5 separate regions of the Homo sapiens genome follow, and all the other regions are linked to region 1. The links are contacts of gene promoters, found by promoter capture Hi-C in blood cells and fetal thymus (Javierre and others, 2016). All regions are on one chromosome and are shown on one strand. Each heading gives the region's core, a stretch centred on a gene start or on the middle of the fragment in contact. The rest is flanking DNA. Distances are from core to core; before and after follow the strand shown. Region 1 holds the start of EPB41L4A (erythrocyte membrane protein band 4.1 like 4A). Region 2 overlaps EPB41L4A (erythrocyte membrane protein band 4.1 like 4A). Region 3 overlaps EPB41L4A (erythrocyte membrane protein band 4.1 like 4A). Region 4 overlaps EPB41L4A (erythrocyte membrane protein band 4.1 like 4A). Region 5 overlaps EPB41L4A (erythrocyte membrane protein band 4.1 like 4A).

Region 1 (5,427 bases), core at 1,518-4,017:
CAAAGTGGCCAGGCGCGGTGGCTCACACCTGTAATCCTAGCACTTTGGGAGGCTGAGGCGGGCGGATCATGAGGTCAGGAGTTTGAGACCAGCCTCGCCAGCATGGTGGAACCTTGTCTCTACTAAAAATACAGGGCATGGTGGCGCACTCCTGTAGTCCCAGCTACTTGGGAGGCTGAGGCAGGAGAATTGCTCCAACCCGGCAGGTGGAGGTTGTAGTGAGCCGAGATCGCGCCACTGCACTCTGATAGAGCGCGACTCTGTCTCAAAAAAAAAAAAAAAAAAAAGAAAGATGACAAAGTGCAGGAGGAAACCTTAGGGAGGGATGAATATGTGTACTAGCTTGATTATGGTGGTGGGTTCATGGGTGCACACTTATGTCAAAACTTATCAAATTGTACACTTAAAAATTATGCAGTGAACTGTATGTAAATTATATGCAATAAAGCTATCCTTAGAAACTCTGTGGAATCCTCTTGTCACTAGTAATCTCTAATTTTGTGTTAAATAGATTTTAAATGTTCTTTTCTCCAGTCTCCGATAAAGAAATGGAAAAGAAAATGCTTCACTCAGGAAAGAGTGTCATATGTATGGGACCTTATGGCTTTGTAACTTACCTTATGAGGAGCTGGGAACAGAATCCCTGCCCATCCAAAACCCTCAGCCTTCTCACTGCCACTGGAGGTAAAAAAACAAAAACAAACAACAGCAAAACCAAAAATCAGAAAGCAAAAAAACCAAATCAAAGGGCCAAAAAACAGGTGAGAGCAAAACTCAAAAAAACTGGGAACAGATGATTGCTTGAACCTTTTGTTTTTGCAGCCTCAAGTGTCTCGGTTGGATATGGAGGTAAAGAATGAAAATGTTAAGCCATCTTTCAATCACATTTGGTAACTCCTGTCAGGAATACTGTATTACAGAAAAGAAAAGCCTCTACAAGCAGAAATGCTAAAATCTAGCATAATAAGGTGTCACCTCATAAGGCAGGCAAGACTTTGACAATAAAACAAAGCTGGACACGAAATTTGATCAGAAATTCAAAACCTGAGTCAATTTCACAGAAAATTCAGAAGATAAAATAGTTTTATTCATAGCCTAGGTAAAGTTCAGAAATTTATATTGCACTTTGGCGGTTATGCTGATCCTGTGTTTGGATGGGGTCACAATAGCAGGGAAGGCCGAGGCTTCCTACAGAAGGTCCTTTGTGGCAAATCACTATGAGAGGAAACTCCATCAAAAGTCGCCAATTGTTCATTTCATTTCTACTGTGCTACGGAAGCCTGGTTTTGTTTTAAGGGCTAACGTCCTAGGTTTTAAGCAATTTTTTTTGAGCTTTGGCTACCCAGCTAACAAGCAGTAGAATAGTCAACTCAAAACTACGTCTGATGCCAAAGCTCTAACTCTAAAACTCAATATAGAGTTTTTTTTCTGTGACACCTCCCCTCGTGTCTCCCCTAACTGCGACTCGCATTAACTCGCTGCTGGTTCCCAGCTGGAGAGCACAGATTGCACCTGCTCCGAAGCCCAGCGGGGCTCAGTGTCGTCCGCAGCTCAACCTCGGCTGCCTGTGCACGGACATCGGGACCCACCAGGGGTCACTGCAGCTTCAGAGCTATTGTGCCCCTCAGTCCTGGACGCGGCCGACCGCGCGGAGGGCGTGGGATTGGGACCGCCGAACCGTGGGGTCCGAGCAGCACCGCGTCCTCTTCTCCCCACCCAGCCTCCAGGTCTCTCGGGGGAAGGACGCAGCGAGCGCTGGACTGCCCCGCGGCTTGGGCGCAGTGTGCGGCTTGGCAGCGTGGACTCGCCGGCACCTCGCCGCTGGGACCACGGTCTCTGCCCCGCCCTCCGCCCCCAGCTGATACCCCGCCCAGAAGGGGCTCCCCTGCCGCGGCCAGCGCTGGACTGGGGGGTCCGCTTCGTTCCAGGGCTTTTTGCAGACGCCTGGACCGGGCCCACATGCACCTGGGCTGCTCCCGCCCGGGGCGCCACCACTCGCGCGGCCAAGAGAACTTTCCCCGGAGCCTCTGCGGCCTGGCGCGCCCAGGGCGCACCCCCCGCTCGCCCGTCCGCCGCGTTCCCAGCTGGGGCGTCGCTCCTCCGCCCGCAGGTCCCCGCCTCCCCGCTTTGCTGAATGTCCTGAAGAAGCCGTATTCCGCCGCCGCGGCAGGCATTCCCGGAGGGAGAGCTTGAACTTGGCTACACACGGCCACCCGTAATGAGCTCGGGAGTCCCCGGACGGGAGCCACACCCCGCGACGAGCTGACCTCCCCTCGCTGGTCTGGGTAAGGAGCCTGCTGCCCTTTCCGCCTCTCTTCCGGCTCCTCGGCGCTTGCGGCTGGGGGACGGGGTAGCGGACGGAGCGACGACCTTCGCCTCTGCCCCTGCGCCCATGGTCGGGGCGTCGTGGGTGCTCCTCACACAAAAGAAAAGCCGAGCGCTTCATACTCGGCGGATCTGACCCGGGGCTGCGGGGCGGGGTCGCGGCTGGAAGTGCGCGCCCGCGGGGGACTCCGCAGGCCGATCGGACGCCAGGACGTCGGGGCCGCGCTCAAATCCGTGCGGCAGGAGGGAGGTGCAGCGCTTCCAGGGTTTTCCAAGGCCGGGGAGAGCCTCGAATTCCCATCACTCCTTTTTCTGGTCTCTTGCCCCCAGTGCCAGGAGACTTTTGTCGTCCCCAGGACTGCGGGAGGGGCCCCGCGCCCCCGCCTTCGGAGGAGCTCGAGCCGCAGGATGCGCGGGGACGCGCCACCGCCCTCCGCGCCCAGTTCCGCCGGCGCTTCCCCGGCGGCTCCCGGGCGCTGACTCTCCCGGGCTTTTCCGCCTTTCTCGCTCCCGCCCCGCCGGGCGGTTCGGCGGCCGGTCCCCGGACCCCGCCGGGAGCTGCTCGTCTCACCCTCGCCACGGCGCGGACAATAAATTAATGCATCGCGCTTGAGTGGAGGGGGCGGCTGGGCGCCTCGGTGGTAGCTTTCTCTCCTGGCTGGAGACGACCACAACCGACATGGGCTGTTTCTGCGCTGTTCCGGAAGAATTTTACTGCGAAGTTTTGCTCCTGGATGAATCCAAGTTAACCCTTACCACCCAGCAGCAGGGCATCAAGGTGGGTGCGGCCCGGAGCGCGTTCCGGGGGTTGGCGGCAGGGCGGGTGCGGGGGTCCATCGCTTTGAGGGCTGTCACCGGTGGGTCGAGGGCGGCGGCCGCGACTCTGCGCGGTGGGGAGGAGAGGCCGCTGTCCCCTGCGCGCAGGGAGAGGGTGGACGTACCAGGGTGAGTTAACTTTGAGTTCCTTCATAAAGCAAAGTTGAGTTTGACGTTTCTAAGTTTACTCAGCACACCGGCTCCCAGCAGCACCCCAAAACTCTTCCCCAAACCGGTTTTCTCCAAAAGCCTCTGGGTGCCCCGCAGCTCTCAAAGAGGGGCAGAATGGGTTATACCAGCTGCGTCCCACCAGTGTGGAAGGCATGGTTTCCCTCGACTTTGTTGAAGGCGTTTTCCTTGACAGTGTTATTAGGGAAGTGAACTAGTTCACTCGTTGAAACGCATTAATGGGTCATTGTGATTGTTTTGCGTGGGTTCGTAGTTGGGTAATGCTACGTTTGGACGGAAAATATTTTCCCTTTCTACAGCGACCTGGGTTTATCCTCACATTTAAGTAAACATCTCTCAAAGCGACCCAGTAATAACTTTGCTCCTGTTTGTGGGTCATTAAAATGCAATCACTACATTAACCTAGAGAGCCCAAACAAAAAGGCAGCAGAGCTCGCAGAGATCCTCTTCCTTACATTGGATGAGAAGGTACGTATGTTTGTAGTGACAACCTGACCGACGCGCCTGCGTGCTTGTTTTGCTTTTGCAACAGTGTTAACTACCTAAAGGAGATCTAAATCCGGAGCGTTTTGTTGTTTTGTTTATCTTTCTCTTTCAGTTTTAGATCGCTAAGGCATTTTAGATAAGGCAACAGCTGAGTCTGGTGAAGGGAAACCGCCCCCCCGCCCCCGCTCTGATAGAGCTGGCTTTCTGAGAAATCGAGTTCAGGCTGCCAAGTATCCTCTCTTAGTCGCTTCATCTCAGAAGTTAATCATAATGGGGTAGGCCCTGGGCATTTCCTTTTGTGAATCAGTTTTTACATAGTTTTATGCACACTAGGATAACTATTCCTGGCTAAAAGTTTCAGCGTTAATGTTGCCATTCTTAGTGTACAGAATTCCAGTTTCATAGGTGTAATTCTTTTGCGGGAGAAAGGAGCAAAAATAATCAGTTAAAGCTACAAGATTGTTAACCCTTTCCTTTAGGAGGTTGTTTTGAATATTGTTTCCCCAGTAATTATACTGAGCAAAATTCAGTTCGATTCTCATTCGGTATTTCCTTTCAAGACCAATAAAATAGACTCTTTTCGGGGAGGGTGTACATTTTGTATTTTTAACTTTTCTTTATGTTCCAAAATATTTCTCCTCTCACCCGCCCAATGAAATCAGGAAAATATTGTAACTTACAAGATGATGTAACATTCTTTGGTGTACTGTATGAATAAAATAGGCAAAAATCACAAAAACATCCTAAATTGTAGATAATATATAGATTCTTGTGTCGAGATAGAAACAATTAGAAAAAGGTAACTGATGATCAGATACTAAGACAGTAAAGAAATCTTTTTGAAGTGCAAAGTCTAAATTATCTGGAGTCTAAAGTCATCTGGAATGTGAGCTTCCTATTTAATCATCAAAGTCATGCCTATCAGCTGTAGAGCGTGTACATTATTCTGTCAAGAGAGCAGCCAGGACTTGGGATCAAATGGAATAATTTTGTCAAAGAAACATGAATCAAAAATCCTGATCCATAATTATTTTTTATAATCCAGTGGTGCTTATCTTGTTTTACAAATGGGCTGAAAATTGGTGAGTGATTCAAAGGCAACAGCAACTATGTAATACTGTTACTTTGGATATGGGCCATATAACTAAACAATAATTTAAGCAGGCTGTTGTTGGAAATAATCATTTAACAACAGGCTTGGCCTCTGTCCTTGTCACAAAAGCATGCCACAATTATTTTGATGGCCATGTGTGTAACACAGATGTTGTCTGCTAAAGCTAATCACATTATCTTCTATGCTACCTTAAAAGTGTATGTGTTAAACACCTACCCACCCTTGGCGTGTACTAAATTAAATATATTTGCATATTTATAAATGGTGTGTATAAAAAAACTTGCATGTAGAGGTATTCAAACATTGGATGAACATGTTTATGTTCTGTACATACTTGACATTTTAAAAAACTTTTTCCTAACCTTCCTGTATTATGGTGCATAGGTACAATTGATGTGTGTTGCATTAATTACTTAAAATTAACTCCTACTTTAGTTTGTAAATGAAAAAGTAAACAGTTACTTCAAAGTTAATAGCCAGTAGCTACCATTATGGTG
Region 2 (5,427 bases), core at 1,957-4,456, 230 kb after region 1:
CTTGGCTGACAGTGTGATCCAGCCAGTTCTCAGCAGTGTCCTTTGTGCTTTTACTACAGCACTCCGGTAACCCAATAATGGGGCAAACAGAATCTTGTACATGCTGATGTTCTACCTCTTGCCCATAAGGTCTCTAAACTCAGCCCCAGGTTGCTTCGTTACTTTCCAAGAAAAGCCTGCACGCCGATGCACCCTGCTTTCCTGTCTCTAGGAAACTGTAGCCTATGGAGAGGGACAACTACCGGGCAAATTTGCTTTTTAGAACCTCTTTTGGAGCCCGTGATGTATCCATTGGAACTCCGGACAGAGTCACTTTTACTTTCTGGAAGTTGCATGTGGTCTTTGGGATGTTGCTCCCTCTGCTACTCCTTCTTGCAGGATTTTTTTTTTTTTTTTAAACATAAATGAGGTCTTTTCTGTTAGGCATGAGGCCACTCCATGGAAATATTGTTTTCTTTTTTCCACGAAGTCAACCCATTGGAGCATAAGCTGCTTTACTGTTTCCATGGATAACCATTTAAACATTTCTCATTTTGTGTGAAGAGAAAGAAAAGTTAATAAAACAACATTTATGAATCAACTTTACCCAAAACAGGCTTTTGACAACCATTAAATTTTAAAAAATAATAATCCACACCAGCTCTGGAAGGCTAATGTTAGAAGCAAAGATTGTTGTTTAGTTTCAATTTTAGGAAAATATAACTGTAAATAACCACCCCATCTGTCTGTCCCCTTTGGGTCCAGAGCTAACAAGGCTCTGTGTGTAAGGGCCCTTGTGTTAATTGTGCCCTAACTGTAGGGCTTCATCCTACCGTGTTTCCTAGAACACCAGAGTAATTCACCCTGCTTCTTTATTTGGGACATCGTTTATGTTTTCCCTTACCCCTTTCCACTTTATTCTTTCTTTACTGTTCTCATAATCCGGTTGGGTATCCTACAGCTTTCTAGGTTTTGAGATTTGAGATGATAATTTTTCACTCTCTTTTTATAACCAGATAGAAGTTGGAGGCACAGTTTTTTTTAATAATATTTAAGATGACAGAAAGTTCTTATTTCTCCTTTTAGTTTCTCTACTACATCCTCATCTCCCTCTCCATTCTCTTGCTTCACTTTTCACTTTTTATATCATATTATTCTCACCCAGTTCCTTTCTGTTTCCTGGGCTTCCTTTCCAGTCTTTTTTCTTTCTTCTGTTTCCTTTGAATTCCCTCTCTCCCTAGGAGCCAATGGTATGACACAGAATAACCTGAGGACTTGGGACTGGGTCTTGGTTTTGCTGTGTGCTGATACTTGACCTTGGGCAACTTGTATAACCAATTCAAGTATTAGTTTTTTTCTCTTTAAAGTTGGCAGGGAGTGGGGGGAGGTATGCTATAACAACTGATCCATTTTGTTGAATGAGTTACTGTAAAGATCAAATGAAATGTAAGAAGTGAGAGCACTTTGAAGTACAGAGCCACGTAGTCCTATACCCACTTCCAGAGTTACTCACTGCTACGGCATCTCCTGTCCTCTCCTCCATCCTCTTCCAACTTTTCTTTTGGTCCTATGTTTCATTTTCCCACCTTTCCTAACTTTATACCTTTGGTTATTTTTACACCAGGATTCTTAACTTGTGATTCATGGGTAGGTGCTGGGGGTTTCATAACCCCATGAAATTGTATGTAAAATTGTATGTGGGCGTCAAGTGCGTAGTTTTCTAAAGATAGGGTCTGTAGTTTTTATCAGATTCATAAGGGGGTGTTTATGTAACACCCCCCCCTTAAAACTTACAAAGTTTTATCATCTAAATAGTGAAGGATTACATTGTTACTGGGAAATGAAATTGGTGTTTCAATTCACTGGTAGGATTAAAAACTAAAATGCCTAAACTTTCTTTAGAGATTACTTTGCTATACTAATTTGTGAAACAGTTGATTCTATTGAATTCTTGAAGTTGGGAACCTACCTAGTACAAGGCACTATAAAGTTAATCTACATGAATATTAGATTCTATTAGTTAGAATTTTGAATCTCGTCCCTGAGATCAGAAGGGCCAGCAGCTCGCTTATTGCTGTAGGTTTGAGACCATGGGCCATGTGCTGGACTTGCCCAGGGTGTAGGATGAAGGAGGACCTCGCAAGTAGACTTAGGAGAGTGAAACCTTTGATGAACTAGCTTTACCTGGATATGTCTTAAGCTTAATAAAATATCCTTGACATTCAAGGAAAAGGTTCTACAAAATATCCTTTGTGCTATTGATGAAAATCAGCAGTCCTTTGAGCATTCACTGAGGAGAATCTTTGAATTACTCATTCATTCATTACCTTTGATGTGTTTCTAGGCTCTTAGAAGTTTGGAAGTGGGAGATGTGGAGGAGTGGGTGACATGAGATAGTCTGGTGCGTTTTTTTCCATCAGCATAAAAGTAGAAATAACTTGGGAGCCTACCAAGTATTAAAACAGAGAAACGAGAGCAGCTTAGGGTAATAGTAGAACTAGAGGAAATTGACAACAGGGGACTATTTGAACGTTTCCCTAATTTTATTCTAGGATGTTTGCATCATAAACATGAGTCATGTACGTCAGTGTCAGGCTGCATGTTTGTGTACATATATATGTACATGCAAATCTGGGAGCCTGTACTATGAAATTGAACCCACTTTGAAGAATTCTGTGGCTTTGAGCTGGTTACTTTATCCTGTGAATCTTCATTTCTCACATGCAAAGTGGAATAATACCTGACCTGCCTACCTCACTAGAGGTTTGTGAAGTTCCCGAGATAATAGATGTGCTTTGAAAAGTAGAAAGTGCCCTGCACAGGCAAGTTCTGTTAAATTGATAACATCCAGCACTGCTCAGTATTTTCTGAAGTTCCTGCAGGATCTGTAAAATGGGGACCAGCTCCCTTGAACAAGAAATAAGTCAGTGTTTTCTAACATGAGTTTGTTCTGGCATGAATGTTGCTAGTTTCTCCCTAACAACATTGGGGTCTTTTAGATGTCTTTTAGGGTCTACCAGATGTCTACAGTATCTAAATAGTAGATTAAGACAGATTTAAATATTTTAATTATGTTCCATAAGGTCTTTTATATTGTTTTTCTAAAATGAGGAAGCACATTTCTGTGTGAGAAATTTGGCACTGTAAGAGGGACAATATATCTGACTAGGGCAAATCTAGAAGATCACAATTTTGGTAGGATTTTGTTTTGGGAGTGGTAAAGAAGAACTTTATTGTCCCTGTACCCTAGGGAAAAAATATATTTGGGATGTTAGCAAACTTAAACTGATGGGCATTTCTTCCGTCTTGCTTGAAAATAGGTAACCGCTTCCTTGCCAGGAACTGCCTACTGTCCTGCCCCTGATTTAGGGGCTGCAAACGAGGTAAAAATTTTGGGTACGGAGAGAAGAGTTCGTACAAAGCTAGTGGAAACAGTGTTCACCGTACTGCAGATGCAAGGGTTTCTGATTTCTACTTTAATAGGATATATCAAGATTTAGACATTTGATATGGTTGATTTAGGGCTTCCAGAGTATAATCAAGGTTGGCAGAGATGACTGTGGAAGGACAAAGCCGCAGCAACTGAGGAATGCTGTTACATTACTGAGTGAGGGCAAAATAGGTTAAAAATTCATGAAAACAGGAGAGTTTGAAAGGGAAATTGCGCCAGAGGTAGCCCATTGTAGTAGTGGGCACGTAAGGAATAAGTGGAAGAGACAGAAGTACCTTTAAGAGCAAATAAGAATAATTTATTGATGGTAGAGACAATGGGAAAAGCAAATGAACTTTTTGCTTGCTGGTCTTAAGGGAGTATGTCGACACATGCCTGGAACCAACATACATTTCCCTAGGGAAGAAAAACTAGAAAAAAAAAAGATTGCTTTATAGCAGGTGATCCAAAAAAAATGAGTACAGTTGATGAGAAACACAAGTTCACAATCAGTTGGGGCCTGCAGATTTAATTTTGGCAATGGAGGGGCCATGTGAAGCAATTGTCTGGAATGTTATGCTATAGTTGAAGAGTGTAAGTTTCTTTCAGTGTGTCTGTCTGGTTTGGAAATAAAATACAAATAGAGAAACATCAAGTTTTAAAGCTAGAAAGGATCTTTGCCATAATTTTATATATGAACAACCTGAGACTTGACCAAAAAAGATAAGCAGTTTGTCCAAGGTCTCTGAGTCAGATAATGGCAGAGCTGGGAATGGAGAAAACTCAGGAGCAATGTTTATGGCTTGTATCATCTTGAAGCTTCATTTTACATTCTCTCTGAAAGACTTCTTAGATTCAGCATTAAGCATGGTGTTTATCTCAGTGAATTAGAAGTGAATTAAGAACTTATGTAAAGAAAGGTTCTGTTAGGAGCAAAACTGCTAAAGGGAGAGGACACAATAAAACTCGGGGATTTGTGTAAGAATTCATTGGTAATGTGAAGAATTTTGCAAAAGAGGAAGGACTGTAATTGGTAAGACAGGAAAGAAGAGGCTAGGAATAGTCATTTTCTTCATTGTTATCAAATGATTATATGGCATTTCATCTTCAAAACCTTTGCAGACCTTAATTAAATGTCAAATGCAGTTAAAATCTAAATTGTATGGATAGTCTGGAAAAGTAGAGTGTTGAAGTTTGGTAAGAGATGGAAGAAATACATTAGAATTCTGTTCTGAAACATGGTTAGAATTTGCTGTATTCTAAAGCAACCCTCTCCCTTATACATTAACTGAAAAACAAAAACCTTGTTATGATATACTTCCTACCACAGTTGTTGACCCTCCATAGTTACAGATGGAGAAATTGACAAAATAGGATAAATGTAGACTTATTGGATCAATTAGTACTGGAAATAAATGTTTGTTAGTTTATTGAGGTTCACCTTTAGATGCAACATTTGAAAATTAATAGATCCACAACATAAATGACAACGGACTCTTTTTCCTTTTTGAGACTTTGATGACTATGATGTAAGAGCACATTTTGACTTTTTAAAAGGTACTATGTCAAAACAATGTTTGTGGTATTTTATTCTTCATGATGTAAATCTATACATCGAGATTAAAATAGAGCAGGAAAGGAGCAAAAAACTATTTGGATCCCCCATACCTGAGAATAAATGAGACTTAAAAAGTCAGAATTATCACAGTAAACATATCTTTTTCATTTAAAGATTTCTTTATTCACTCATGCATAAACAAAATAGTTACTCCTGCCTCTTAAGGACAAAGTGCTACAATATTCTTGCTTCTAGGGCTAGGATTTTTTTCTTTCCAAGTAGCACCTGTGTTTTTTGGAGCGGTTCAGCAGTGGAAGAAATGACACTTTCATTCTTGTAATGAGGCACCATTAACTAGAGGTCTTTTGTAAGGATGTAATTTCAAACTTCATTACAGGCCAAGGCCGCCACACTACCCATTACTCAGGAAAATGTGCTTCTGTTGTGACTCTCCAAAGGC
Region 3 (5,427 bases), core at 887-3,386, 210 kb after region 1:
TCCTGCCTCAGCCTCCCAAGTAGCTGGGACTACAGGCGTGTGCCACCACTCCCAGCTAATTTTTGTAGGTTTGGTAGAGATGGGGTTTTACCAGGTTGGCCAGGATGGTCTGCATCTCTTGACCTCGGGATCCGCCTGCCTTGGCATCCCAAAGTGCTGGGATTACAGGTGTGAGCCATTGCGCCCAGCCATATGTCTTTTTTTGTAGAATGATTTGTTTCCCTTTGAGTATATATCCAGTAGTGGAATTGTTGGATCAAATGGTGGTTCTGTTTTAAGTTCTTTGAGAAATCTCCAAACTGCTTTCCACAATGGCTGAGCTAATTTATATTTCCCCCAACAGTGTAAAAGTGTTCCCTTTTTTCCACAATCTTGCCAACATCTTTATTTTTTGTCTTTTTAATAATAGGTATTCTGACTGGGGAGATGGTGTCTTATTGTGATTTTAATTTGCTTTTTTCGAATGATTAATGATGTTGAGCATTTTTTCATGTATTTGTTGGTTGCATGTATGTCTTCTTTGGAAAAGTGCCTGTTGATGTCCTTTGCCCATTTTTTAATGGCATTGTTTGTTTCATCTTGTTGAATTGTTGAAGTTCCTTATAGATTCTGGATATTAGACCTTTGTCAGATACATAGTTTGTGAATATTTTCTCCTTTTCTGTAGATTGTCTGTTTACTCTGTTGATAGTTTCTTTTGTTGTGCAGAAGCTCTTTAAAGTCTCACTTGTCAATTTTTGGTTTTGTTGCAATTGCTTTTGGGGACTTAGTTATAAATTCTTCACCAAGGCTGATGTCCAGAATGATATTTCCTAGGTTTTCTTCTAAGATGTATTTTCATAGTTTGAGGTCTTACATTTAAGTTCTTAATCTATCTTGAGTGGATTTTTGAATATAGTAAAAGGAAGAGGTCCAGTTTCACTCTTCTGCATATGACTGGCCATCCCAGCACCATTTAGGGAGTCCTTTCCCCATTGCTTGTTCTAGTTGCTTTTGTTGAAGATCAGATGGTTGTAGGTGTATGACTTTGTTTCTGGGTTCTCTATCCTATTGCATTGGTCTTTTTGTCAGTTTTTGTACCATACCATGCTGTTTTTGTTACTGTAGCCTTGTAGTACAGTTTGAAGTCAGGTAGTGTGATGCCTCCAGCTTTGTTCTTTCTGCTTAGAATTGCTTTGGCTGTTTGGGCTTTTTTGGAGGGAGGGTCCATTTTAGAATAGTTCTTTCCTGTGAAAAAATGATGTTGGTAGTTTGATAGGAATAGCATTGCATCTGTATATTGCTTTGGGCTGTATGGCCATTTTAACAATATTTTTCAATCCCCTTTGCAACCACATTCCTGTGATGATACTGGTACTTGAAGCACCACCAAAGTTTTCCTCTCAAGCTTCAGATGAGAAATACCTTAGGGTGTGAATGCAATTAACTTGTCACCCAGGATTTTATTATTCTTTAACTTTTGTATACTCTCTCAGTTCCTCTTTTATCTCCCTATTTCTTTTCCAGTCTCCCTTCTCCCTTCTCTTTGCTTTTTCTGATTTATTGATCCCATACACTTTCTACTATCGTATTAAATATCTGCCATATTTGTTAATTTTCATCATTTCAAAAGGTAAGCTTTTACTTTGGGAATTGAATCTGTAGAGGTTTTTAGCCTTTATAAAAATAATAAACTAAGCTGCCATCTACTAATACTATGGGTTATATGCCTCTGTCAGATACAAAATTTTATAGGCTTACTTTAATTCCATCATGGATAGTATACTAGGGTGCAAGTCTTTTTTTTTTTTTAATACCTCGTCATCTTTCCTCTCTCCTCTTTGTTGGCTGTTACAAAGTACTCCTCTATGACCCTATCCTAGGACAGTTATACAGAGGATTCCTCAAAAAGCCAGGGTTAAAAGTGGATTTGGAGTTAAATAGCTCTATCTTTATCTTAAGCTAAGACTCCTGAGGATGTGAGAGGTGACACACCCCTCCCCACTGGTGCCTGGAGGCTTCTGATTAGTCCCTTCCTCCATGTCTCCCCAGGGGTTTCTAAAACAATTTGTTGAGGGTAGAACAACTCAGTTACATTTACATTCTTAGGACTGAAAGATGATACTAGGTCAGGAAATAGCATTTGAAAGTCATTCTCATCTGGAGGGATGAAGCCAAGATAAGGCGGAAGCCAGGAAAAGGTCAGTTTGAATAGCCTGAACCTGCCCGGGGCTGACCGACCTGTGTGGATTCAGACCCGTGCCTGGAGTAAGGGCTTCTCTGATCACTGTTGTAAAAAGGGAGCCAGGCTGAAGATCCTGGGTAGCCCAGGTCCTTCCTCCTTGGCTTTCTTATTTTCTTGGCTCTGTGGTTCCCCTTGCTGCCTCTCCTGCAGGTGGACTCTAGAGTTTCTTAACAATTGATGGACCTGGCATCTGTTGACTAAAGCAGTAAAACTAGAAAGAAAGAGGGGGGAAAGACCCAAAGGTACTTGCTGGAGACAGATTTTATGGGCAGCGACTTCATGTTCTTTTTAGAGTCACAGGTATAAACAAGCAAATAAGTGTGCACATCTTAACATTTGTTAAAAAGTTTTACTTAACAAATAAGTATGTGAGTTTACTTTTATTTTCTACTTAATTTATTTCTCATACTTTTTTTTAAAATTAAAGCTTTAAGAAAGCAAAGAATGAAAATAGCCCTGATACCCAAAGAAGCAAATCTCATGCACCGTGGGAAGAAAATGGCCCCCAGAGGTAAAGGGAATCATTGTTTTTATAAAGGAGACAGTAGAAAAGGGGTTAGTACATGCAGCTCATTGAATAAAGGAATCCAGCTGCTGGGTGGCTGATCACAGCTAGCTGTGGATAAAGTGGGCAGACTCTAAATCAATGTGACCCAGGGGAGAGGGGCTGGGATTTCTGAAGTGGAAATCAACAGTATGTTTTATAACATGAAACTTTTTCCTGGAAAGGCAAAAGGGAAACCTAGGAAATATTATGAAATTGCCTGTAAGGTAATATATTTCTGAAAACTCTAAATGGCATATTAATAATTTTCCCCATTTCATAGTTTTGGTTAAAAACTTAAGTCAAAAACTATAGCTGATGAATAGTTATGCTGGAAGACCTTTATTCCTAAAAATATGGATATGTCTAGTGTATCTCTGGTCACAACTACCAAACCAGTGACAGACCTGTGTTGTAACTTATAGTTCAAATTCTAGCCCTGCCACTTCCTAGCTACTTTATTTGGGCCACTTAATTAAGTAGTCTATATTTCAATTTTTTTTCTGTTTAATAGGTTTAATAGTTGTATCTCAGTGCTGAAGGCTGATATGAAGATTAGCTGAGATAATGAATGTAAAGTCTTTAGCTGAGTCAGTGTTTAGAAAGGGCTAAATTCATCATATGTATGAATTGTTATTGTTATTTGTGTGTGTTCATTTTTTACTACTGAAGGCTAGTGAGACAAATGGCATTCCTGCAAAATAATGACCTTTATGATTTGATTTGCCAGATCTTACCTCTTTTCTTTTAATAAATCTTGTCAGCAAAGAGAACCACGTGCCCCTGGTGCATGTGCCTCTGGAAGTACCAGCTGTGCAGTTATGAATAGGTCTGGGCTGCGGTGTGTTTTCCCCCAGGAACTCTCTGGGCTCTTTTTGACCATTTTTCTTTCTCTCCAGTGGACTCTACAATTCTCCCAGTGATCGCACTAAGTCGCCAAAGTTCCCTTACACGCGTCGCCGAAACCCCTCCTGTGGAAGTGACAATGATTCTGTACAGCCTGTGAGGAGGAGGTAAGCGGAACACAATCTCTCTGTTAGCAGCTTTCAACAGAAGCATTTTGTCCCAGGCCTGACTTTATAATAGGTGATTCTTATACCGACATTACTGTTTCTCTCCAAGATAACAAGCAGCTTACTCTTTTTGACATAAAATAAGTTAGGAATCCTGAAGTATTTATCGTAAACAGCCAGAGTTTTAGAGAATAATTTCATAAAATATTGGCAGGAACTTGCTTTCTGTATTCTATTTATGAATAATGTGTCTAAAAATAGTATATAATATATAATAAAAATATGTATTATATATAGTATATTACAAAGTAGAGACAGTATATCTTTTTTTTTTTGAGACGGAGTTTCACTCTTGTTGCCTAGGCTGGAGTGCAGTGGCACGATCTCAGCTCACTGCAACCTCCGCCTCCTGGGTTCAGGCGATTCTCCTGCCTCAGCCTCCCCAGTAGCTGAGATTACAGGCATGTGCTGCCACGCCCGGCTGATTTTTTTGTATTTTTAGTAGGGGTTTTTCCATGTTGGTCAGGCTGGTCTCGAACTCCCAACCTCAGGTGATCCACCCGCCTCGGCCTCCCAAAGTGCTGGGATTACAGGTGTAAGCCACTGCGCCCAGACGAGATAGTATATGTTAATATATAAAACATATTAAGTGTTTCTACCTGAGAAGACAAAACTACACTTAAAGATAAGCCTTTTTAGCTGAAAAACGCCTTTTAAAGCACAGAAAAAAATGAATCCTGTTACATTTTACCTATACGGGTAGAGTGTTTGAAGGGATAATATTTGTGTGTGTATGCTTAATTTAAAAAGTTCTTAGCTGGAAGTTTTGGACCTCTCTGCAAAGCAGGCTGGGCAGTGTGACAGGTACAAGAGAGGAAGATGTAGAAATGACTCATCAGTGAAATTCTTTTCACTCCTACATGGCAGGGACTGTGTTTTATTTTGAGTACCTACATAATTGGCATTGTATAAATGACTTTTTCCTTTTTTTGGTTTTTGTGGTTTTTGTTTTTGTTTTTGAGATGGAGTCTCGCTCTGATGCCCAGGCTGGAGTGTAGTGGCATGATCTTGGCTCACTGCAAACTCTGCCCCCTGGGTTCGAGCGATTCTCCTGCCTCAGCCCCCTGAGTAGCTGGGATTACAGGCATGCGCCATCAGGCCCGGCTAATTTTTTTATTTTTAGTAGGGATAGGGTTTCTCCACGTTGGTCTCGAACTCCTGACCTCGTGATCCCTCTGCCTCAGCCTCCCAAAATGCTGGGATTACAGGCATGAGTCACCGCGCCCGGCCTCTTTTTCCTTTTTTAAAAAAATAAAAATGTATAAATTAAAGTAGAGATGGGGTCTCACTTGTTATGTTGCCCAGGCTGGTCTTGAATTCCTAGCCTCAAGCAGTCCTCCCACCTCAGTCTCCCAAATTGCTGGGATTACAGGCATGAGTCACTGCACCCAGCCTAAATGACTTTTATACTTACAAGAAGTTTCAGTTCATGATGTCAGGTAACCATCAAGACTCTTTTTGTGCACACTGCAGGTTTGGAAGCCAAGCCCTTCTTTCACCTATGCCCTAGTTAATACACACTTGCTGGCCTTTTCCTGCTTGATCCCTTTTGCTTCTGCTAGTTTCCCAGAGCTTTGCCCCCAGCT
Region 4 (5,427 bases), core at 1,516-4,015, 200 kb after region 1:
ACAGTCTACAATATAGAGACGAAAGACTAAGAAAGAATGTGTTACATTTGTATGTACAGATACGAAATGATCTCCAGGATATGGTATATAAATGGTGGGGGCAGAGAAGCAGAGGGGCCCGGTAGTATTTAATGTGTTACCATTATATACAAAGACAAATTGGGTGGGAAAGTATGCATGCAGATAATACTTGCAGGCAGGATACATTAGAAACTAGTAACAGTAGTGGCCTTTGGGAAGCGTTTCTGAGAGAATGGGGATTGGCAGTGGGAGAGAGATTTATTTTCATTTGAATTTTTACCAAGCACTTTTCAAAAGCCCTACAGATTACTGTCATGAATGCATGAAGTTCACAAATGCTCATCCACATTTCCAATAGAGACATTCTCAATAAGCTCAGAGCTGAGACATTGTTCTTACCCTAGATCATTGTGATTTACAGAGAAAGAGCAATATAAGATCAATTGTACAAAACTCAAATGTTAGGAATTTCTCCTGTGTTATAGCAGACACAACCAGAGTCTTCAAGGAGAGGGGCATAAGTCCAGGATTAAAGTACATAAGATGGCATATAAGTCCTCAAGCCAGAGGGTGCTCCATTTCATGAGGAAGACTCATGGTATAGAGTCTTTGGATTAAATGAAGTAGAGGACGCTTTGTGTTTTTCACCCAAAGAAGTGATGATTTGCAGGTGTAGCAAGTTCTAGAATGTGGAGGATGTCTGGATGAGAATCACTTAGCAAGGAGGAATGTTTGGGAAAAGAGAGGGTAAAGAAACTGGGAAAAGACAGTAACATAATAATAGCTCTCACATCTATCCGGCCTTTGACGGGTATTGTGAAGTTTTTGTTTATTTCTTCTGGGTCAGAAAAAGGAAGAAGTTAGTATAAATTTTCATACAAAAGGGTTAGAACAAGACATTCTGACCTAGAATTGTTATATGGGTGGCTATGGAGATGATTTCTGAAAATATGGTGGAGGAGCTTTGTTTTGGCAAAAGTGTGATTGTGGCTCTTCTTTTCCAAGTGCACAGATCAGAATTAGACCATTGACTGAGTTATGGTCCAAGTCTGTGGTCCCTCCCTCTCTCCTTTGTAAGAACCTCTGCTCTGAGGGATGTTTAAATTACCTCTTGACTGATTATTTAAGCCATTTAATTGAGAAGCGACTTAGTGGGGTGGTAGGGGAGCTTAAAAAAAAGAGTGTGAAAGTTGTACCTGATTTGAGTAGCCCTGAATTCCTGGTCTGCCTTGGTTGTGACCTGTAACTTGTCATTCAGCATTCTCAGCTTTCATCCCTTTATCCATAAAATACAATAATTGGGTATGTAAGCTTTAAAGATTCCTCTTCTTTCTAAAATTCCTTTATTCTGTCTGACTTACCTGCCCACAGAGTTGGAAGGACCAAATATGAAAAATAGATACAGTGGAATTTTAGAAAGTTTTTTTTTTAAGTATATGGGTTTTTACCATTTCAAAAGTCTTGCAAAGTTGTGAAAAAGATCTTCCCAGATTATAAAATGTAGTTTTGCCATTGGAAATACACAGTACTTTTTGTGTTTGGAAAAACCTTCTAGCCAATTCTTTAAAACATCTCAGGCTGGATGCGGTGGCTTACACCTGTAATCCCAGCACTTTGGGAGGCTGAGGTGGGTGGATCACAAGGTCAGGAGTGTAAGACCAGCCTGGCCAACGTGGTGAAACCCTGTCTCTACTAAAAATACAAAAATTAGCCGGACGCAGTGGCAGGCGCCTGTAATCCCAGCTACTCAGGAGGCTGAGGCAGAAGAATCGCTTGAACCTGCGGGGCGGAGGCTGCAATGAGCCGAGATCGCGCCACTGCACTCCAGTATGGGTGACAGAGTAAGACTCCGTCTCAAAAGAAAAAAGCCTAAAGTTCAAATGAAACTCTTATTGACAAATTGAATAAAGTTAACTTTAACCATGGCTCTATTACAGTTTAAAAATTATTCTTTTAGTCCAAACTGACGAGATGAATATGAGATTTTGCCTGTTTGGTTAACTCATAGTTAAAAAGTGCTGTCTTTCTGGGTAAAAATAAAAAGAAGACATTCCTTCTTAGAAAGTTTTTGCATAGCTTTGTCTCTGCCTTTGAGTTGTGTGTGAACACAACCTTAGACTAGTCGTTTCTTGAACCTGCTCCTTCTTTTGGAAGTCAGCAGTGGGAATTGGCTCTACCTCGGCAGTTGTTTGTTGTTGCAATTCTTGATTTTACTAATGCATTGGGCAAATTTACCTGTTTTTTTACCCCTCCTGTTCTTGACAGGTGGGGGCTGGAGGGTGTGTCTGTCAGCGGTTTGGGATTCTGTTTTGGGGATAGATATTCCTGAGTAGATGGCATCTGAGGATTCCACACCTTTGCTTTACTATCAGAATTCATTGTTCTGAGGTGATGGTTTCTATGCCAGTATTTTCTTCAGACTTTGAAAACTCTGGGATTGATTTTTTTATTGGCTCTGTTTGGCCATAAGTTACTCATTACTTATTAATATCAATGTTAAAGATTTTGGGGGTTCTCAGAGTTCAGGGTTATTTTGGTAGGTTATAGGGAGAGATAGGTGAGGTAAAGAAGAAAGAAACTACTTTCGGTCGGGCACGGTGGCTCAATCCTGTAATTCCAGCACTTTGGGAGGCCAAGGCGGGCAGATCACCAGAGGTCAGGAGTTCAAGACCAGCCTGGCCAACATGACGAAACCCTGTCTCTACTAAAAATACAAAAGCTAGCTGGACATGGTTGGTGTGTACCTGTAGTCCTAGCTACTTGGAAGGCTGAGGCACAAGAATCGCTTGAACCCGGGAGGCAGAGGTTGCAAGCAGGGATTGTGCCACTGCACTCCAGCCTGGGCGACAGAGCCAGACTCCATCTTAAAAAAAAAAAAAAAAACTAGTTTCACTTGTGGAGCAGGTGCCCTGCTTGGCCCTTGGGTCACTGGCACTGTGCTGGTCTTTGGAGCAGGAGTCCAGAAGGGGTGGAGGAAGAGCCCTCTGTAACAGTGGACTTGCTCCTCTCTTCTCTCCTGGGGTAAGAATGGGGCCTCTGAGGAAACCGCCCAGATTCCTTCTCCAGAAAAGATGATGTGCAGTCCAGCAGATGAGTCAGTTATCTGGGGACAACCAAGCCTTTTGGGGCTGCTTTACGGTCCAGGTACCAGGTACAGCTTTGAACAGAGAAGCTGGTTTGCAGAGAAAGAAGAATGGAGTTGGCTCACTGTGAGAATCACACAGCTTTGAGAAGAGAGGGGAAGGGAGGCTTAGTAGCTATGAACTGAAGTCTGTGAGATCCTGTTGTGCATTCACCATGAATTCCTTTCTAATTTGAGCTGATTTCCTTGCATGAAAACAGTGGATAACATTACTGGGTATAACCCTTTCAGTATCCCCATGAGAAAGATGGGTGGTAGTCTCATCTTACTGATGAGGAAACTGAGGCATGGAAACATTAAGTACTTGTTTGAGATTACACAGGCAGTAAGCGCAAAGCCAGGATCCTAACCCAGGTCTTTGGGATACTATGGTACATGCTTGGAAAGTAAATGGAAGTTAAGAAAGGTGAAAGGTCTAGAATGATTTGAAAATATACAACTTCTGTTTTTTCCCCATGTGTGATTTCTTCAGTAGCTCTAACTTGTTTTCAACAAATACTCTTGAGAAGACCATACATTCTGCTCATTTATAGTCAGAGTCAGCCTACTTTTACTTTAAGCCATTTTTAGAAGAAAATGTGTAAGTTCTTTGGGGCATCTTACCTAGCCAAGAGAGAGGGGGAAAGGCAGTAACTGTTAATTGCAAGGAGCATTAGGTAGACCATATAGTCAGGTGTATGTTTGTTGCAGGCTGTTAGCCTTTGTTGGCATCCTTTTCTATTCTGCCTTGAAACTTAGGCTTATTTTCCATCTGTAAAAGATTTATTAATGTATGGCGAGTCTGGTTAGATTTTCTCTAAAAAGTTAATGTTTTCAGTCTTCTTGGGAGTGTTTAGCATTCCAAACATAGCTACGAAAATTAGAAAAGCAAGCAAAATGAAAGGGCTATTATATATTCAAGTTAAAATCACAGCTTTAGTGAGTTACCATAAATGACACCTTTTTTCTTTTTCTTCTTATTCAACAAGAATTTATTGGGCACCTCTTTGGCATAAGACCCTATTTTATAGAGCACAGAAAATGGAATAAAGCTTGGCCCCTAATCTGTAGGAACTAAGTCATATACAAATAACACAGCCGTCAGTTATTTAGCACTTACTAAATTCCAAACACAGTGCTAAAGGCTTTATATAAATTGTCTAATTTAATCCAGCTGTGCACTATATAAGTAGTTAGTGGTGTTCCCATTTTACACAGGAGAAAACTGTGGCCCAAAGTAGTTTAATAACTTGTCCAAGATCACAGGATCAATTTACAATGGGTAAACTGGCAGAGCTGAGAAATAAATCTAAGTTTGTTGGACTTTCAACCTTGTACACTTAACCAGCTGCTTTGCAAGACTAGAGAAGCAATGCTGGAATGCAGGCAGGACATATCAAGTGGCATAGAGTGGAGCACTGACAGAGTTCTAAGTGTCCGGAAGGATAATTTGCTTATGGCTAGAGGCAGTCCATGATGCTATTGCAAAAGAAGGGGGTTTTAATGGACAGGTGAATTAAGGCAGTAGATTTCAGGCTCGTGTATGCAACTGCTAGGGTGGATTGTATAGGGGAGAAAAAGTAGTAGCTTCCTCACTTATCACTAGGTTCATGGCTGAGGTCCCCATAACAAAAGATTAACAAGAGAAAAGTGTACAACTTTGTTTAATATAAGTTTTATATACATGAGAGCCTTTAGAAATGAAGACCCAAAGAAATGAGATATGTGTATATTCATGGACAGTCATGCAGAAGTATGACTAGAGGACAAAAGGGTATATTCTAATGGTAATAACCTGGAGGGGGGCTTAGCAAAGGTTGGTTGTTTGGATTCTTCTTGGTTTCCCTGTATGATATCCCCTCCCTCTGGGTAAAGCAGGATATCTATCACATGAGGGATTCCAGGGGAAAAAGGAGGAAGAAGGTCAGAGAGTTACCTTCTAGGTTTTAGACCTGTTTCAGGAGAAAATGACAGAGGGTTGGGAGATGAGAGGGGCTTTCTTGCTTCTGCTGTTTTCTCAAATGCCAAGGTGTTATAGTTTGGGGTAGCGTGTCCTGATCTGAGTCAGGTGGGGAGGGCAACACACAGAGGCTTTCTAAGATGTACTTGGGCACAGGTAGTTTTCATTGAATCAATTTCTAGATTCTCTTTTCTAAAAGGCATATTCCTGTGGTAGTATACATACTGGTTCTTCTGTCCAGCCTGCCCTTTTGCAATGGACCTTCTTCCATTTTGCAAAAGAAAAGAGCCCTTTCCTACATCTGGAATCTGTTAGACTGCTTTGT
Region 5 (5,427 bases), core at 1,323-3,822, 180 kb after region 1:
ACACTATGGTAAGTATTTATGTATCCAAACACATCTAAACACAGAAAAGGCACAGTTAAAATACGTTTTATAATCTTAAGGAACCGCTGTTGTATATGCGATCCATCATTGACCAAGACATCCTTATACAACGCATGACTGGATATTTAAAAAAAGAAAACTAAAAGAAAAAAAAATTTCTCCCTAAGGGCTCCTATCTTCTGACAAAAGCCTGGGCTTTCCCTCCCTGCCCGGAGGAGCTTCTGTGATTTTCTGTGTGTCCCCTTTCCCAGCTCTGCCACCAGTTTCTTTTGCTGCTAAGGAAAACACTTTCTGAATTCATTGACTTTTCTTCCTCACCTCTAATTGTATAATCCCTATCCCTTTCACAAAGGCCTCGGAAGATTTCTTACCGTGAAATGTGGTAACCTCCTTTCAAACTCGATTTGACTTTTCTGGGTCACTTGAGAGTTGCACTCTCTCTTCCCAGCCTCTCTGACACTCTTTTCTGGTATGTTTGGACCTCTCTCACTCCACCTTCAGGAGCGTCTTTGCAGTGATTCCACCTTCATCCATTCTGCGCACTCTCCCTGAGCAGTCTTGTTCACTTGGTGAGATCACCTGTGTGAGTAGATGTGCCCTCTCTCTGGCTCTCTGACCTGCATCCTTTGGCCCTCTAGGTGTCCCATGGGACCTCAAAATCAGAATATTTCAACCTGAACTTATTGTCTATTCCCTTGTCATCCAAATGCCCATTTTTTCCACTTGCTATATTTTAGTAGCACCCGAGCCAGAAACCTGAAAATGTTCCTTTCTTTTTTTACCAGACAAGGTTTTGGAATTACAGATAGCCTTGCTGTAATGTGTGCATGTTGGCTTTGTTTCCATCACATCTCTTCATCTTACAAATAAACTCCTAAGTTGGGCAGCATCATTCAAGTTGGACTTGGGAGAAATTTTATACATATAAATATTCTGTCCTTATTAAAAGTAGGAGACAAATCATTTCAATTATTCTTTTGCATTGATTGTTTTATGTTTATGAGTCCGTAGAAACCTCATTTCAGAGGCATTTGCTGCATTTGAGACTTGAGTTTGGTTTGTAGCTTTGAAATTAAATTAGCAAGTATATAACTTCACAGAGCTTGTGGTTTATTGTGTTAGCATTCATATTGTGTTTTGCTTAGTTTTCTGTTCAGTTACTTAAAATATAAATAGTATTTTCTGCAAAATTAGAATTACAGGCATATCTTTTTTTTTTTTTTGCACTTCACTTTATTGTGCTTTGCAGATACTGTGTTTTTTTTACAAATTGAAGATTTGTGGCAACCCTGTCAATCTGTTGGTAGCATTTTTCCAAAAGCACATGCTCACTTCGTGTCACTGTGTCACATTTTGGTAATTCTTGCAATAGTATTTCAAACTTTTTCATTATTATTACATACGTTATAATGATACAGGAGCTAAGAAGGAATTAGGTAGATAACAAGGGCACGGGCGCTTGATAAGGCTCTACTTTCTAATGAAAAGCAGTCCTGAATCATTTTCTAACAAAGAGCACCCTGCAAGCTAGGAGCTTGCACAGGTGGGTGCCAGCAGGAACTAAGGACTAGACATTTTCAAAATGGTGGGTCCATCTTCCCTTCTCTGCCAGCCACACATACTATAAAGGAGCAGACAAGATGGCGCAGATCAACTGGAAAGCCTATTTGCATAAGAAGATTACGGTAGGGTGACCAGCCTTCCCCGCACACTATGTAGACATCATATCTGATGAAACCAATCTGTGAGCCCTATATAAATCAGACACCGCCTTCTGCAGCCTGCCTATAAAATCTGCTGTGGTCCATGGCCTCCCAGCCTTTTTCAGACGTCTCTTTCTCTTTCTCAGGGAGCTGCCCTCCTCCCTCCTTTCTTCTCTCTATTAAACTTTCCACCCCTTAACCCACCTGAATTCTTTCTCAATGCGTGACAATGAACCCCAAGGTATATACCCCAGACAGTGTAGCCACTTCAATAGTGATCTGTGATCAGTGATCTTTGATGTTACTGTTGCAATTGATTTGGGGTGCCACAAACTGCATCTATGTAAGATAGCGATCTTAATTGATAAATGATGCATGTGTTCTGACTGCTCCACAGACTGGCCATTCCCTGTCTCTCTCCCTGTCCTTAGGCCTCCCTAGTTTCCAAGAAACAGTAATATTGAAACTAGGTCAGTTAATAACCCTACAATAACCTCTAAGGGTTCAACTGAAAGGAATAGTTGTGCATCTGTGATTTGAAATCAAATGCTAGAAATGATTAAGCTTAGTGAGGAAGTCATCTTAAAGGGTGAGATAGGCTGAAAGCTAGGCCTCTTGTGCCAGTTAGCCAAGTTGTGAATGCAAAGAAAAAATTCTTGAAGGAAATTTGGAGAGCTACTGTAGTGAACACAAAAATAATAAGAAACAAAACAGTCTTACTGCTAATTTGGAGAAAGTTCGAATGGTCTGGATAGAAGATCCAACAAGCTGCAGCATTTCCTTAAACCAAAGTCTGTAATCCAGAGAAAGGCTCTAACTCTCTTCAATTCTGTGAAGTCTAAGAGAGGTGAGGAAACTGCAGAATAAAAGTAGGAAGCTAGCAGAGGTTGGTTCATTAGGTTGAAGGACAGTAGCCATCTCGATAACATAAAAAGTACAAGGTGAAGCAGCAAGTACTGATTTAGAAGCTGCAGCAAGTAATCCAGAAGATCTAGCTAAGATTATTGATGAAAGTGGCTACACTAAACAACAGATTTTCAGTGGAGACAAAACAACCTTCTTCTGTTGGAAGAAGATGCCATCTAGGACTTTCATAGCTATAACGAGAAGTCAATGCCTGCATTAAAGCTTCCGAGGACAGGGTGACTGTCTCTTTAGGTGCTACTGCAGCTGGTGACTTTAAGTTGAAGCCAATATTCATTTACCATTCAGAAAATTCTGGGTTCTATACAAATGATGCTAACTGTACTCTGTGCTCTATAAATGGAAAAACAAAGCCTGGATGACAGCACACCTATTTACAGCATGGCTTAGGAAACAAACAAACAAACAAAATATATATATATATATACACACACATATATATATGTGTGTGTGTGTATATATACATAGATATATATATATATATTTTCGAGACAGAGTCTCATTCTTATCACCCAGGCTGGAATGCAGTGGCACGATCTCGGCTCACTGCAACCTCTGCCTCCCGGATTCAAGCCATTCTCCTGTCTCAGCCTCCGAAATAGCTGGGATTACAGGCGCCTGCCACCATGCCCAGCTAATTTCTGTATTTTTAGTAGAGATGTGGTTTCGCCATGTTGGCCAGGCTGGTCTTGAACTCCTGACCTCAGGTGATCCGCCTGCCTCAGCTCCCCAAAGTGCTGGGATTACAGGCATGAGCCACCACTCCTGGGCCGGCTTAGTGAATATATTAAGCCCAATGTTGATATCTACTGCTCAGAAAAAAAAGGATTCCTTTCAAAATATTACTATTCATTGACAGTGCACCTAGTTACTCTAGAGCTATCATGGAGATGTACAAGGAGATTAATGTTGCTTTCAAGCCTGCTATCACAGTATCTGTTCTGCAACCCATGGATCAAGAGGTAACTTCAACTTTCAAGTATTAAGAAATACTTTCTACAAACTATAGATGCGATAGATAATGATTTCTCTAATGGATCTGGACAAACAAAGTGAAAAACTTCTGGAAAATATTCACCATTCTGGATGCCCCTAAGATAATTTATGATTTATGGCAGGAGGTCAAATTATTCTGATTAGCAGGAGTTTGAAAGAAGATGATTTCTACCCCCACGATGACTTTGAGGGGTCCAAGACTTCAGTGAAGGAAGTAACTGCAGATGCGGTAGAAATAGCAAGAAAACTAGAATTAGAAGTGAAGCCTGATGGTATAACTTAATTGCTGCAATCCCATGATAAAACTTGAAGGAATAAGGAGTTGCTTCTTATGAATGAACAAAAGTGGTTCTTGAGTTGGAATCTACTCCTGGTGAAGATGCTGTGAACATTTTTAAAATGACAACAAAGGATTTAAAATATTACACAAACTTAATTGATAAAGTAGTGGTAGGGTTTGAGAAGATTAACTCCAAGTTTGAAAGAAGTTCTACTGTGGGTCAAATGCTATCAAACAATATCACGTGCTGCAGAGAAATCTTTCTTCAATGGAAGAGTCCATTAACACAGAAAGCTTCATTGTTGTCTCATTTTAAGAAATTGATATAGCCACTCTAACCTTCAGCAACTACCACCCTGGTCAGTCAGTAGCCATCAACATTGAGGCAGTACCTTCCACCAACCAAAAGATTATGACTTCCTGAAGGCTCAGATGACTTTTACCATTTTTCACCAATGAAGTATTTTTAAATTATAGTATATATGTTTTTTTAAGACCTAATGCTGTTATATACTTAATAGACTACAGTGTAATGTAAGCAACTTTTACCTGCTCTAGGAAGCCAAAAAATATGTGCAACTCACTTTATTGCAATATTCACTTTATTGCAGTAGTCTGCAGCTGAACCTATAGTATCTCCAAGGTATGCTTGTACAGTTGTTCCTCAGCATCCACAGGGTATTGGTTTCAGAAACCTTCCTCCCAAATCCGAGAATGCTCAAATTCCTTATATAAATGGCATGGTATTTGCATATAACCTACACACATTCTCCCATATACTTTAAGTCATTTTTAGATTACTTATGATTCCTAATCTAAGTGCTATGTAAATAGTTGTTATGCTCTATTGCTTTTTAAATTTGTATTATTTTTTCTGAATATTTTTGATTCAAGTTTGGCTAACTTGTGTATGTGGAACCTGTGGATATAGAGGGCTGATTTGTACCTTCAATGTTGTTTTATTTCTTACTTATTAAATATAGAGAATCAAATAACTACTGGATTAAAATAATTAGCATGTATTATACACCTATTATATGATATTTTATGTATGCATATTGTTGAATTTGATCCACTCAGTGACTTGATGCAGGATGGAGAGACATGGCATCAGAGGCATTATTTAATTTTCCCAGATTATGCTGCTGGGGTGGTCACTCCTGGTGGTTCTTGGCTTGAGATTCTTTACTCATTGCTTTATGTGTGACTTGTTCATCCCTGAAAGTAATACACTTAAGGACTGGATTTGTGGGCATCTTTTTTTTACTGGGAGTTGATTTTCACATGGTCCGTGCTTTTCCTGTATTAGTGGCCATTTATGAGGGAGATTTTGTAGTATTTCACTTCTACCGTCCAAACTATCTATTGTCATGGGGCAATGTAAAAGTAGGTAATAAAGGTGCTTTAAGATTTAAGTGTAATTTATAAAATTTTAATCGATGGAAGGTGATTTTAATGCACCTCTCCAAAAATAGTTACCAAGAGACAGTTATTATTTATATA

Evidence for each region. Contacts are between HindIII fragments. The CHiCAGO score rates a contact against its expected background, and 5 or more counts as called.
Region 2: a contact is called between a fragment that was not itself captured here and the fragment with the promoter of EPB41L4A in region 1, in 5 of 17 cell types (endothelial precursors, erythroblasts, megakaryocytes and 2 more). The highest score is 12.8, in endothelial precursors.
Region 3: a contact is called between a fragment that was not itself captured here and the fragment with the promoter of EPB41L4A in region 1, in 5 of 17 cell types (endothelial precursors, erythroblasts, megakaryocytes and 2 more). The highest score is 20.4, in endothelial precursors.
Region 4: a fragment that was not itself captured here is called in contact with the fragment with the promoter of EPB41L4A in region 1 in 1 of 17 cell types (endothelial precursors); the score reaches 8.6 in endothelial precursors.
Region 5: a contact is called between a fragment that was not itself captured here and the fragment with the promoter of EPB41L4A in region 1, in 1 of 17 cell types (endothelial precursors). The highest score is 6.2, in endothelial precursors.

The regions. Positions count from the first base shown.
Region 1 is chr5:112,416,617-112,422,043 of GRCh38, reverse strand. EPB41L4A (erythrocyte membrane protein band 4.1 like 4A) reads left to right here and starts at 2,767. Exons shown (of 23, transcript NM_022140.5): 1 at 2,767-3,103. The coding sequence starts at 3,005. It overlaps EPB41L4A-DT (EPB41L4A divergent transcript), which reads right to left and starts at 2,461. Exons shown (of 1, transcript NR_027706.1): 1 at 1,066-2,461. RefSeq lists a silencer at 2,013-2,102. The HindIII fragment of the contact is 9,034 bases long and covers 1-5,427 here.
Region 2 is chr5:112,186,645-112,192,071 of GRCh38, reverse strand. All of the region lies in intron 17 of EPB41L4A (erythrocyte membrane protein band 4.1 like 4A), which reads left to right. Among named protein-coding and RNA genes, the nearest start is that of SNORA13, 28 kb to the right of the region's middle. The HindIII fragment of the contact is 2,049 bases long and covers 2,182-4,230 here.
Region 3 is chr5:112,202,729-112,208,155 of GRCh38, reverse strand. EPB41L4A (erythrocyte membrane protein band 4.1 like 4A) reads left to right here. Exons shown (of 23, transcript NM_022140.5): 14 at 2,652-2,735; 15 at 3,668-3,781. Among named protein-coding and RNA genes, the nearest start is that of SNORA13, 44 kb to the right of the region's middle. The HindIII fragment of the contact is 1,034 bases long and covers 1,620-2,653 here.
Region 4 is chr5:112,220,420-112,225,846 of GRCh38, reverse strand. The region is part of intron 12 of EPB41L4A (erythrocyte membrane protein band 4.1 like 4A); the gene reads left to right. Among named protein-coding and RNA genes, the nearest start is that of SNORA13, 62 kb to the right of the region's middle. The HindIII fragment of the contact is 2,862 bases long and covers 1,335-4,196 here.
Region 5 is chr5:112,240,924-112,246,350 of GRCh38, reverse strand. All of the region lies in intron 9 of EPB41L4A (erythrocyte membrane protein band 4.1 like 4A), which reads left to right. The region is part of intron 1 of LOC101927023 (a long non-coding RNA gene); the gene reads right to left. Among named protein-coding and RNA genes, the nearest start is that of SNORA13, 82 kb to the right of the region's middle. The HindIII fragment of the contact is 564 bases long and covers 2,291-2,854 here.